Linked DNA regions of Homo sapiens: region 2 is linked to region 1. The links are contacts of gene promoters, found by promoter capture Hi-C in human tissues and cell types (Jung and others, 2019). All regions are on one chromosome and are shown on one strand. Each heading gives the region's core, a stretch centred on a gene start or on the middle of the fragment in contact. The rest is flanking DNA. Distances are from core to core; before and after follow the strand shown. Region 1 holds the start of TAS2R60 (taste 2 receptor member 60). Region 2 overlaps CLCN1 (chloride voltage-gated channel 1).

The links. Contacts are between HindIII fragments. The study calls those that stand out against the background at their distance.
Region 2: a contact is called between a fragment that was not itself captured here and the fragment with the promoter of TAS2R60 in region 1, in 2 of the 25 tissues and cell types used here (adrenal gland and ovary).

The regions. Positions count from the first base shown.
Region 1 is chr7:143,440,748-143,447,118 of GRCh38, reverse strand. It overlaps TAS2R60 (taste 2 receptor member 60), which reads right to left and starts at 3,666. Exons shown (of 1, transcript NM_177437.1): 1 at 2,710-3,666. The coding sequence starts at 3,666. The coding sequence ends at 2,710. The region is part of intron 2 of EPHA1-AS1 (EPHA1 antisense RNA 1); the gene reads right to left. The HindIII fragment of the contact is 10,403 bases long and covers 1-6,371 here.
Region 2 is chr7:143,333,505-143,338,859 of GRCh38, reverse strand. All of the region lies in intron 12 of CLCN1 (chloride voltage-gated channel 1), which reads right to left. Among named protein-coding and RNA genes, the nearest start is that of CLCN1, 20 kb to the right of the region's middle. The HindIII fragment of the contact is 5,397 bases long and covers 1-4,067 here.

The sequences.
Region 1 (6,371 bases), core at 2,417-4,916:
TCAGGGAGGAAGTTTTAGGCATGCCCAGAACAATAATCCAAATTTGCTGCAAAATAGGATCTACTAGAATGGCAGTGAAAGATAAAGTTGTTGCCAGACTGTGGAGGTTCTTGAATGCCACATTTAGGGGGCCTGTGCTTCATTTAATAGGCACTGAGAGGCTGGGTGTGGTGGCTCATGCCCGTAATCCCAGCACTTTGAGAGGCTGAGGCAGGCAGGTCACTTGAGGTCAGGAGTTCAAGCCCAGCCTGACCAACATGGCAAAACCCTGTCTCTACTAAAAATACAAAAATTAGTTGGACATGGTGGTATGCACCGTAATTCCAGCTATTCAGGAGGCTGAGGCAAGAGAATCACTTGAACCCGGGAGGTGGAGCTTGCAGTGAACCAAAATCAGGTTGCAGTGAGCCAAGATCACGCCACTGCACTCCAGCTTGGGTGACAGAGCAAGACTCTGTCTTAAAAAAAAAAAAAAAAAGGCACTGAGAGATGATTCGGGTGATATACCTTCAGGAGATTAATCTGGAAATGATAGTTCTGACTGCGGTGGTAGTGAACCATGAAATGAAGCAAGTAGTGAAGAAGAAATCTCAGCAGTGCAGGTGGGAGAGGAAGATAGTCTAATCTCAACAAGGATCAGGAATGGGAAGAAGGAGACAGATGATGGGGACATCACAGGGGTAAAATTTGAAAATGGTTACCTATTAGGTACAAGGGCTCAGTAGAGAGAAGGGGGTGAAAATTAACTCAGAAGTTGATAGCCTGATTTATTGAATAGCTGTAATAGATGAATGGATTCATCTGAGCAGGGGACGGGCTGGTGGGAAGAGGAGGGAGGGAAAAGTAGAGGAGGAGGAGGAGGAAATAAAGAAGAAGGAAATACTTTGAACTTGCTAAATTTGCTCATGGTACTATCAGGTGGTAATGTCCAATTAGTGGAAGAAAATATAGGATTGGAGTTTAGAGAAAGGTCAAGGCTTTGGTAATTATCAACATGAAGGGCATAATTGAAGCTATGTGAGTAGATTTAAACACAAAGGAAAGAGATCAGATATCATCTCAAAGGAAGAAGAGGGCTGGCTAAGGACAGAACCAAGAGGCAGGAGGATGAGTGGTTAGTGAAGGGGACACAAAAAGAAGCGATGGGAACTGGAAGAAGATCCTAGCATCCGTCGCCAAGAGAACAACTTTTAGAAAGATGCGCAGATGGGCAATTATGGGTGAGGTTTAGTTTCCCTTTTAAAAAAATCTTTCACCAAGATCAGCAGTACTTTTGTAAAAATATTTTTCATCAGTTTATTTTAAGGAAATCATTTGTTATCAACAGAGGCAAATACAACAGAGACATGGGAGGATAAGGGCTGGGGACAATATCACATTTAGTGACAAAGAGATCGTGTGTGTCCCTGTAGAAACAAACATGTTTCAGCAGAACAGGGAAGCAGGAGAGGATTGGAAGGCACACGGGAAGACCCTGCAAGTGACTCATTGGCAGCACAGGGGTACAGGGAGGGGGAGGAGCGAGACAGATAAGGGGATTGTTTTCAGGAAAAAAGTTTAGAGGCACATTTGTTGAAGAAGGGAAGGACAATAAAGAGGGAAAGTTGGAAGATTTGTGTAGAAGTAGAAATCCTTGACCTAGCAGCAGAGAGAAAACAGGCAGGAGCAGGGCTAGGATCACAGATGTCAGCCTTGAAAAGCCAAAAACAGAGACCAGTCCTCTAATGTAGAGTGTGGTGGAGGTAAAAACCAGGAAAGGAGGCGGAGAGATTTTAAAGTGAATGGAGGAAACTTGAGGGTTGTCTCGTTTGAATGATTCAGGGAGTAACTGAACTTAAAGAACGTTTGAGAGGAGCTGGGAAAAGCAGAAAGGCAGTCTGAACATGGTTCACCAAACACAAAGGCTTTTTCTTCTTAAATCTTAGGTCTTAGACAGATACAGATAAACTTCCCCATGTCAGTAGGGGAATTACAATAGGTCCCAATATCAATCAAAAGAAGTTACATCTGAACCCACAGACCTTAACAAATACAGAGGAGACTAACAGGCTGGGCTATTATAGAGAACATGAACCACATACAAATCATAGACCCCTGGCACTCAGAGGGATCTCCAAAGGTCATCGGAGAATACACACATCCCTGGCAACACACACTGCCACACACATGCACCAATTACACTATGCTCTGTGTAGAAGGTTTAGACACCAGAAACTCTTCCATGGAAAGAAGGAGAGAGGCACCACATTAGATGGCCAGAAAACTTTGAATTGATGAGAAGGGAAAGGTGGTTCACAGGACAAAGCCTGAGAAAACTGCAGTTCCAAAAACATGCCCCAGTTCGATTGAACAGATAAAATATTGCATGAAGTTTGAGGATCTTTGCATCCAGTTCCCAGAATGATTATTTTAAATACGAAGAGATCGATCACAGGAAAAATAAAGGCTTCTGGATTCTTTGACCACATCAGGTCCCACAGGAACCATGGCCACATGAACTATGCACTTGGTGAGTACATAACATGACACTAGCCCATATTTCAGGACCTTTACTCTCACCTTGTATCCTATTTCATTGAAGTTATTTTTCTAATCATTAACTGTAGCAACAGAGAGAAAACATTCAATGTGGCAAAGAGAGAAGCTATGTCCCTTTGAGTCCATGCCTTCTCCACAAGAATCTCCTTGAAGTTTTTCATCAGCTGTGGCTCAAGGTGTCCCACACCTTGAGGAACGACGACTCTTCAGCACAGCTCTCAGCCTGCAGTTGCTGAAGAGCAGAATGATGGGGTGAACTGCTGCACACAGATAAATCACTGACTCCCACACCCAGAATTTAAAGTCCAGAGGTGGAAAAATACCTGCAGCACTGAACACCAGTGACAGGAAATATGAGATGAAGAGCATGGCAAAAGAGAGGAGAGCCAGCAGAGCCTTTATGTGTGCCTGCACACTGGGCTCTCGGAATCCTGAGGTTGTAAGGAGAGCCTTCTTCCTGTGTCTTCCCAGAGATGTGATGAGCAAAATCATGCAAATGAAAAAGACAGCAGTGGGCATTGTCCAAGTAATCATTTTTAGAGGGAAGAGATAGAATTTCTCACAGTAGCTCCGTATGCTATCGCCAGTGACATTCCAAGGTTGTAGATGGTTCCTTAAATAGTTCTGATACATTCTGTGGTTGCCTATGAAAAATAGAATGGTGGTGAAGCTGGAGAGCCCTACAGAGCTGAAGAGCATCCATGGTAGCCACCCAGACAACTTGTGCTTTAGCCAGAAGAAGACAGGGTGGGTGAAGGTAGCAATTTTCACACAATAGAAGACACTGAGCCAGGTAGAGGACCATAAGGTGGCAGCATTCAGGAAGTCCCACTGGAAAGCTAGAAACTGCAGTACAGGGTTGTATGGGAAGGCCATCGGATGCAAGAAAACATAAATGGTCTTACCCATTACCACTGACTGCAGACAGAAGCGAGAGGCCCCTAGGCTAACCAATAACTTATCACAAGGCAACAACATTCTCCGTAGCACCCACTCCACGCCCAGAGCAGCAGTGATGAAGCCATTGCCTGCTATTGCTACCAGGCGTAAAAGGAGTAAAATGGTAACCAAGATGATGGCCTTCTTGTCAGTCACCGAAGATCCTAGAACCATGTGGTCTCCATTCATCTCTCTGGTGGACAAGATGGGTCCCAAAACTTCAAGGGCTATCTCTGTTGGGTTGCTCTGGAAGGTCCTGTAGGATATGTTTGTCCCTCCAGCTGCCCCAAGCGCAGAAGCTAGGCCAGAGTAGAGGACGCAGGCTATCAGAGGAGGGTGAGAGGTTTTTTCTTCTCAGAGTAGATGCAAATATTGTCAAGGCTCAATTTTCAAAGTCCCCATACCTGCCCAAAAATTTGCCTGCTCTTCTGCCTATTCTCTGCCCATGTCAACATCAAAGTGGATAATATATCAGGCCCTGGCATTTAGTGTCCTTACACAGGAGGTTATACTTCTCTAAGCGGACACCTATGACAGGACCATGCACCTGCCAGCTCAGTAGTATCATCCGTGGGGCACACCCGCTACTGAGACAGCGCTCACATCCACGGGGGGGGGGTGATTGTTATGTTGCAGGCATTGTTCTGAGTGCTCTCCTTAGTTCTCACAACAACTCTATGCGGGGAGTAGTATGGCAAGACCCCTTTAACTGAGACAGAGAGAAAACTGAGCAAACCTTTACAGAGAAGGATTAATTCAAGTCTTATTACTCACAGTGACCATCATCATAAAAAAAGAACACTGGAGACAATTATACATAATGAGGCAGGCAACTTTTTTCAAAATTTAAAAATATATATTTGATAACTGGTGGCCTCTAAAATAGCACTTCACAGAGGAACCCCCAGTAGCGATAAGCCAATGGGATATGGCAGAATGAGCCCTGTGCTAGGAGTCGAGACAGCCTTTAGTCCAAACTTTACCCCTTACTGTGAGTTGCTGGATATGTCAGCCCCTCTGCGCCTCATTTTGTCCATCTGTAAAATATGAAAAGTATCCTATGTTCTAATTCACAAAGATGTCTTAGAATCTCGGCTTAGAATGAAAGAAGACATGAAAGATAATCTTACAGATAAAAGAAATAAGACCCCAAATTATATATTACAACTCCCACCTAAAGTCACAGTTACACAGAGGAAAGACCAAGATCCAAACTGATTCCAGGACCAGGAATCTCTGCCATGGTTAGCAATACATGTTACACCTCCATCTTCTTCATCCCTAGCTGAACTCAGAAGCCCAAGTTTTGAGTCTTGTCACAATCACTACGGATCCTCAAGCAGTTAACCTCTCTGAACACCCCCCTTTCTTCACCTATAAAAAATATGGGTCACAAATAAATATGACCATAAATATGGTAAATATATTGGAAATTATAAACCTCTGCATATGGACAAGGAGCAATGATGATGATGACAATTACTTTATTAGAATGGCTATCTTCTATTCCATCCATCCTGTGGCATAATAAGTAGCATAAGGAGAATTCAGGAGAGCATCAGGGATGCAACAGAAGTTCAGGGCACCAAATGTCAGACCACTGATATCAACCAGAGAAGGACAGAGTAAAAAAAAGACCACATTCTTTATAGAAATCAGCTTCAAAGAGTCAAAAAAATCAGCAATCAACACCCAGGTGAGTGTAAGTAGGTTAACGTGTCACAGGGAGATAGGAAAGCAGGAATTGTTCTGGGTCAAATACAGCAATATTGAAGGCTCAGGATCAAGTAACATGACAGTAAGGGGATTTGTAATGAATACACATCTGCTGACACCACAACCTACCAGTTCCATATATAGGACCCCCACAAAAAGGGAATAGAACGCATGTCAGCATCTCTTCCCAGTTCCCAGTCTACTTCCCAGTAGTCCACTTCCAGGTGGAATTGTTTCTTTAACACATACGCCAACCATAGTGGACATAGGTCTTCGGAGTAAAGGAAATAAGATGAACTAAGGTAATTCACTCTGCCTTTCTGTGAAGATGCAAATTTCCAGGAGATAGAGTTCCCAACTGCTCTCTTCCTTGCCCTTGTTCTTCTGGCTGACATTTGGCTGTTTTCTACTGGAACTTGGAGAAATGGGGCAAACTTCGGGCTTATAGCTCTGGAGTATGGCCACCTACAAACCGCCCAATATGGAAAACTTGAATCTTTTTCATCCACCTCCCACACCTTCAATGATAAAGATGTGCATTTAACCTTCAATTCATTTAATAATAATTTATTAAGCATATCCTATATGCCATGATAACCCTTTGAAAGACATTGGGCTACAACAGTGAATTAGATATCTGCCTTCAAAGCACTTTTATGGGCTAAACATAAACCACAAACATTTACTGGACATATACTATGTGCAGAGTAAGTTAATCCAAAAGAGGGAATAATCATTTGAATTTAAATATGCAATGTGTTTCGTGGTGATTCTTTTGTTGTTTGTTGTTTGTTTGTTTGTTTGTTGCATTTGGCTTTCTCATGTCTAGATTTATCTTCTTAGGTAAAAGTCAAGTCTGAGAGTTTTTAACTTTTCATAACCAGTCTTTATAAATGTAATCATGAGGGTAGTAGGATAGGGATCCTGAGTTAGCTCTCTATATGGAAAACCTTCAACTCAGTACTCTCAACAAGTGACTCCCAGTCTGTGGCTCTATGTGTTAGGGATCTTGCTATTCCCATCCCAAGATCTCTCAGAAGAGTTGAGAAGTAACAGCCCCATAATTGTGAGACAATAAAGATGCTGTCTTGCATGTTGGAAGGAAAAAGATGAGGCATCAGTAAAGGAGGGGGATACATGATTATATCCAGAACAATTAGATACATTTAGCTACAACA
Region 2 (5,355 bases), core at 120-2,619, 110 kb after region 1:
TTTCCTACTCAGGTTATATTTCTGAAAAGGCGCTCCGGTTTTTTTTTTTTCTTTTTTTTTTTTTTTGAGACAGGGTCTCTCTCTGCCACCCAGCACCCAAGCTGGAGTGCAGTACCATGATCTTGGCTCACTGCAACCTCCGCCTCTGAAGTCCAAGCTATTTTCCTGTCTCAGCCTCCTGAGTAGCTGGGACTATAGGCGCACGCCACCATGCCCAGCTAATTTTTTGTATTTTTAGTAGAGACGGGGTTTTGCCATGTTGCCCCGGCTGGTCTTGAACTCCTGACCTCAGGCAATCTGCCTGCCTCTACCTCCCAAAGTGCCGGGATTACAGGTGTGAGCCGATGCGCCCGGCCAAGGAGCTCCAGTTCTAAGTGTCAGACATTTAAAGTCTGAGTGACTTATTGTGTGATTAATTGAGCTTCAATGGGGTCATAGAACCATCTATATGGTGAAACTCACAGTAGAACCTGGAGAGAAGACTTACCTGCCTGAGCCACTTGCTTTAATGATCAGATCACCTTAAACAAGGATCAAAATTTAGATCTGTCCTGGCTAGCTACTGGAAGGGTAAATTGAGAAAGCCTGATAAGTCAGCCAATGTGATAGAAAAAAAATCTCTAAGGCCAATTTTGTAAGCTAGAACTCCAATAGAAATTGAGACCATTTTACAAAAAGCAATATGTGCATTTTGAGGCAAAGAGTACAAAAGAATTGTCCGGGTGCAGAGGCTCACGCCTGTAATCCCAGCACTTTGGAAGGCAGAGGTGGGCAGATCACGAGGTCAGGAGATCAAGACCATTCTGGCTAACATGGTGAAACCCTGTCTCCACTAAAAAATAAAAAAATAAAAAATAAAAAATAAATTAGCCAGGCATGGTGGTGGGCACCTGTAGTCCCAGCTACTTGGGAGGCTGAGGCAGGAGAATGGCGTGAACCCGGGAGTTGGAGCTTGCAGTGAGCTGAGATCATGCCACTGCCCTCCAGCCTGGGCGACAGAGCGAGACTCTGTCGCAAAAAAAAAAAAAAAAAAAAAAAAAAAAAAAAAAAAAGAATTGAGAAATAGAATGGAAAAAAGGCTAGTTGTGGAACTTTTTAAATATCTGTAAAAGAAATAGAAGTATGAGATGTCATATGTAAGCAAAGCAACAGGTTTATATATCCCTTCCAAAATAAGTAAACCAATTTCAGAAATGGATCTCAAACTTATTAGGTGTAAGAAGGTAGCAGCTAAAGCTCAGGACAAACTGCCAAGATGAAAGTATTCACAATTTTAGAGCTGTGCGCAATTGCACTGTAAGCTAACGAGAAATATATTTCTTAATTTTCAGAACCGTAGAAAGAAAGAACTCCCCTCATCCAGGGCTGACCTCAGGAGACAGTGACAAAGACTCTAAGAAAGTCTCATCCCAGAAGATCTGAGATGAGGCAAAACACACACTCCTTCATGTCAGAATATGACTATTCAAAAACAGTTGAGAACTATAAAAATGAATGGGCAAAATGAAGAGAATAGAGACTGAGAATCCCCTGAGGACAGAGAGTGCATCTTGTCCTTTCTGCCTTCTCTCTGCACTGGCACAGTGCTCAGTAAATGTAGGAAGGGTGTAGCTAGGTGAGTAGGTAGAAAGGAAGGAAGGAAAGAACGAAGATGGGCTGAACAAATAGTATTCATGCAAAGGAGGAAAAGCTTCTCAGAGCTAATATTTGCTAAAACACTAAAGAGTAATGCTCATCCAGGGGAACTTGCTTTAAAATGCAGATGACCAGACCCCACTGGAAGCTACCACATCAGATTGTCTGCAGATAGGGCTATAGGCACTTGTAATTTAAGCTTCTTAAGTGATTCTGACATTTAACAGTTGGACTGAACTATCCTGTACCATCTCTTTGAAATAAGTACATAAAAGCCATAAGAGATTTTGTAGGCTCAGGTTAATCTGAAAGCTCTAGCAATTCATATAACAGGTAACCAATAGGTCTGATTTCAGAAGATGTATTTTAGATTATCCTCCAAGATATGTGTAAGAACAGTATTACAATCAGAAGACATTGAAGTTATCAACTCCTATAGCACAAAGGTTGACACATGAGATTAACAAACTTTTTTAGCTATTGGCACGTGAAAGAAAAGATCCAGAAGTAATGTGAAACACAAATAACTCCCAAGACTTTCTTCTTTCTCTTTCTTTCTTTCTTTCCCTTCCTTCCTTCCTTTTTTTTTCTTCTTCTTCTTTTTTTTTTTTTTTTTTTTTGACAGAGTCTTGTTCTGTCACCCAGGCTGGAGTGCAATGGTGTGTCAGCTCACTGCCACCTCTGGCTCCCGCGTTCAAGCAATTCTCCTGCCTCAGCCTCCCGAGGAGCTGGGATTACAGGCGCCTGCCACCACGCCCAGGTAATTTTTGTATTTTTAGTTGAGACAGGGTTTTGCCATGTTGGCCAGGCTGGTCTCAAACTCTTGACCTCAGGTGATCCGCCTGCTTTGGCCTCCCAAAGTGCTGGGATTACACCCAGCTTTTTTTTTTTTTTCTTCAGATCTAGACCTACAGAACTACCACGATTTTAAACACTCAATTTCAGGGAACTGGAAAACTGGAAACCCATTATGGGTTTCCACCATATTTAGACCCTTCATTAGAAGGAGTAAAATGAAGAATTCACTTCGGGAGAATGAAGTGAAAGGAGTGAAAAAAAATTCAACAGAGCCTCAGGCTGTGCAGAGAACTTAGTGATACTAGGTAACAATGTTAGACTTATTAAAAGCAAACTGAGAATTTGGAATGGTATTCATACTCATTGTAAAAGCTCTTCTCTTGATGTATAATGTAATGACACTTTCCACGTCATGAGATTAAGGAAGATGGAAGTTCTCTTCATTAATATTATAAAACAGCTGAATTGGCCAGGTGCGGTGGCTCACGCCTGTAATCCCAGCACTTTGGGAGGCTGAGGCGGGCAGATCATGAGGCAAGGAGATCGAGACCATCCTGGCTAACAAGGTGAAACACCGTCTCTACTAAAAATACAAAAAAATTAGCTGGGCGTGGTGGCGGGCACCTGTAGTCCCAGCTACAGGTAAGGCTGAGGCAGGAGAATGGCGTGAACCTGGGAGCCGGAGCTTGCAGTGAGCCGAGATTGTGCCACTGCACTCCAGCCTGGGCTACAGAGTGAGATTCCGAATCAAAAAAAAAAAAAAAACAAAACAGCTGAATTGAGAATCTTACCTGCCTGTACAGATGCTGCTAGAAGACCACATAGACTACATTTCAAATTAGGCACTGGAAAAATTGTTTCAGTCATGTTTATATTTTAGTTTAGCTATGTATCCTACCTAGCTAAAAAATAAGAGTATGGTTATTGTGTCCAATGATTAGACAGTGAAAATGCTGGGAAGTGGTGATAACCAGGGAATATCATAGATTTGTAGCAGTGAATGGTTTTATGTTCGTAAATATTATAGGATATTATAGGCCTGCTGCAAACTGTTAGGCTTGAAATATAGCCCAGGAAGTATATGTTTCTTTTCCTGATACAGTATGATGTAACATTATCAAGGATATAATCTAGTGAGAAATTAATAATTGTGGCATACAGGTGAGTCCTCTATATCATCTAAGTAGGTTTCTCAAAATAAGCTTGAATTTGCGAAGTGGAATCCAGACATATACTTGGGAATCTGGAGAGCTGGGATGAGGTTTGGCAGAAATGTTGAAAAATATACAGTATTTCGTTTCTACAGGACTTTTCAAAATCTTGATATTTTAAAGGTACATACGATGCCAATGTTGCCGTATAGCTCAGTCTAGAGGAATCTCAGAAAAATACAGTTATCATCATTGGACTACCGTCCAATTCTGAGATCCACCAAAATTTGTACTTGGTTACTGTAGATGGGTTTGTGTACTCAACAACTAATTATAGGAGGTTGGGATTTATAAATTAGAGAAGATGAACTCTATAATGAAAGTCTAAAAATCAAATCCCTAACAAGACACTGAAAACTTCTTTCATGATAAAAATGTAAAATCTTTTGAAGAAAGACATTTTAAAGGGATTAAATTAATAAAGTGAATGTGCAAAATATGAATGCTGTAGATTCAACTAAACCACCTAAAGTGGAATGGGGAAGATCATTTGCAAATACAGTTTCTAGACACCCTGGGAATATGTTACAGAGTTGAAATCTGGTGTTTCACGTATCTGCTGTCTCTAGTCTTAACATCACTAAAAAATTAAATTAAATAAACAGCAAAAAATAGAACGTTTTAAAATATTTAAAAATTTTTTTTCTGTTGCAAGCATAAGATATAGCTAAAGGTTAATGATGAAATATTATGTACTTGGCACATAGTAAATGCTTAATAACATTTATTGAACAAATGAACTCATGAACCCACTGTAGCTATTGCAATATAAATATAACTTGGTGACTCATATCCTGGGAAAACATAGATTTATAAAAGGTATCATAAATAAGTTAATAGCAAGGTATTCAAAAGCTTGAAAGTTCAGTATGAACAGACTTATAAATGAGAACTCTAATATACAGAGGAAAGTGTTGTGTTATTTAGGCAAGACATACTATTAGTAAAAAAGATAATCATCACAAAAGAAAAAAAAGGGCAATCAATAATTTTTTTTTTTTTCTTGAGGAGTGTTGCCCTTGTCGCCCAGGCTGGAGTGCAATGGCACAATCTTGGCTCACTGCAACCTCCGCCTCCTAGGTTCAAGCAATTCTCCTGCCTCAGCCTCCCAAGTAACTGGGATTACAGGCATGTGCCACCACACCTGGTTAATTTTGTGTTTTTAGTAGAGACAGGGTTTCACCATGTTGGTCAGGCTAGTCTCCAACTCCTGACCTCAGATGACCCACCTCTCTCGGCTTCCCAAAGTGCTGGGAATATAGGCATCAGCCACTGCACCTGGCCAGCAATCAGCAATTGTAATAGATGTCACAACCAGGGGTAGAAATAAAAATATCTTATTACAAGGCAGTAATTGAGAAGTCTATAAATACATAATCCTTGATGGGCAGATATGAAAAAGAAGTGATGTGAAAGAGATCATCTTTTATTGCCTAGTTGAAGCTAGAAGAATATGGTTTGGGAATGGCAAAATCCTCACAGCTTCATCACCTAAATAGAGAATAATAACATGTATAAAAATTATGTGTAGTCACTAATACAATTAATTTAAATATTTTATCCCTTTTGAAGATCTAAAAAAGAGATTATCTACAAAACCGGGGGAAAAAAGATGCTCAAATCACCTAAAAAATGGATCATCAGATACATGGAGAATGAAATACTTAATTATCTACTAAGTGGGGGAATTTGGTTAATTAATCCAAGGCTT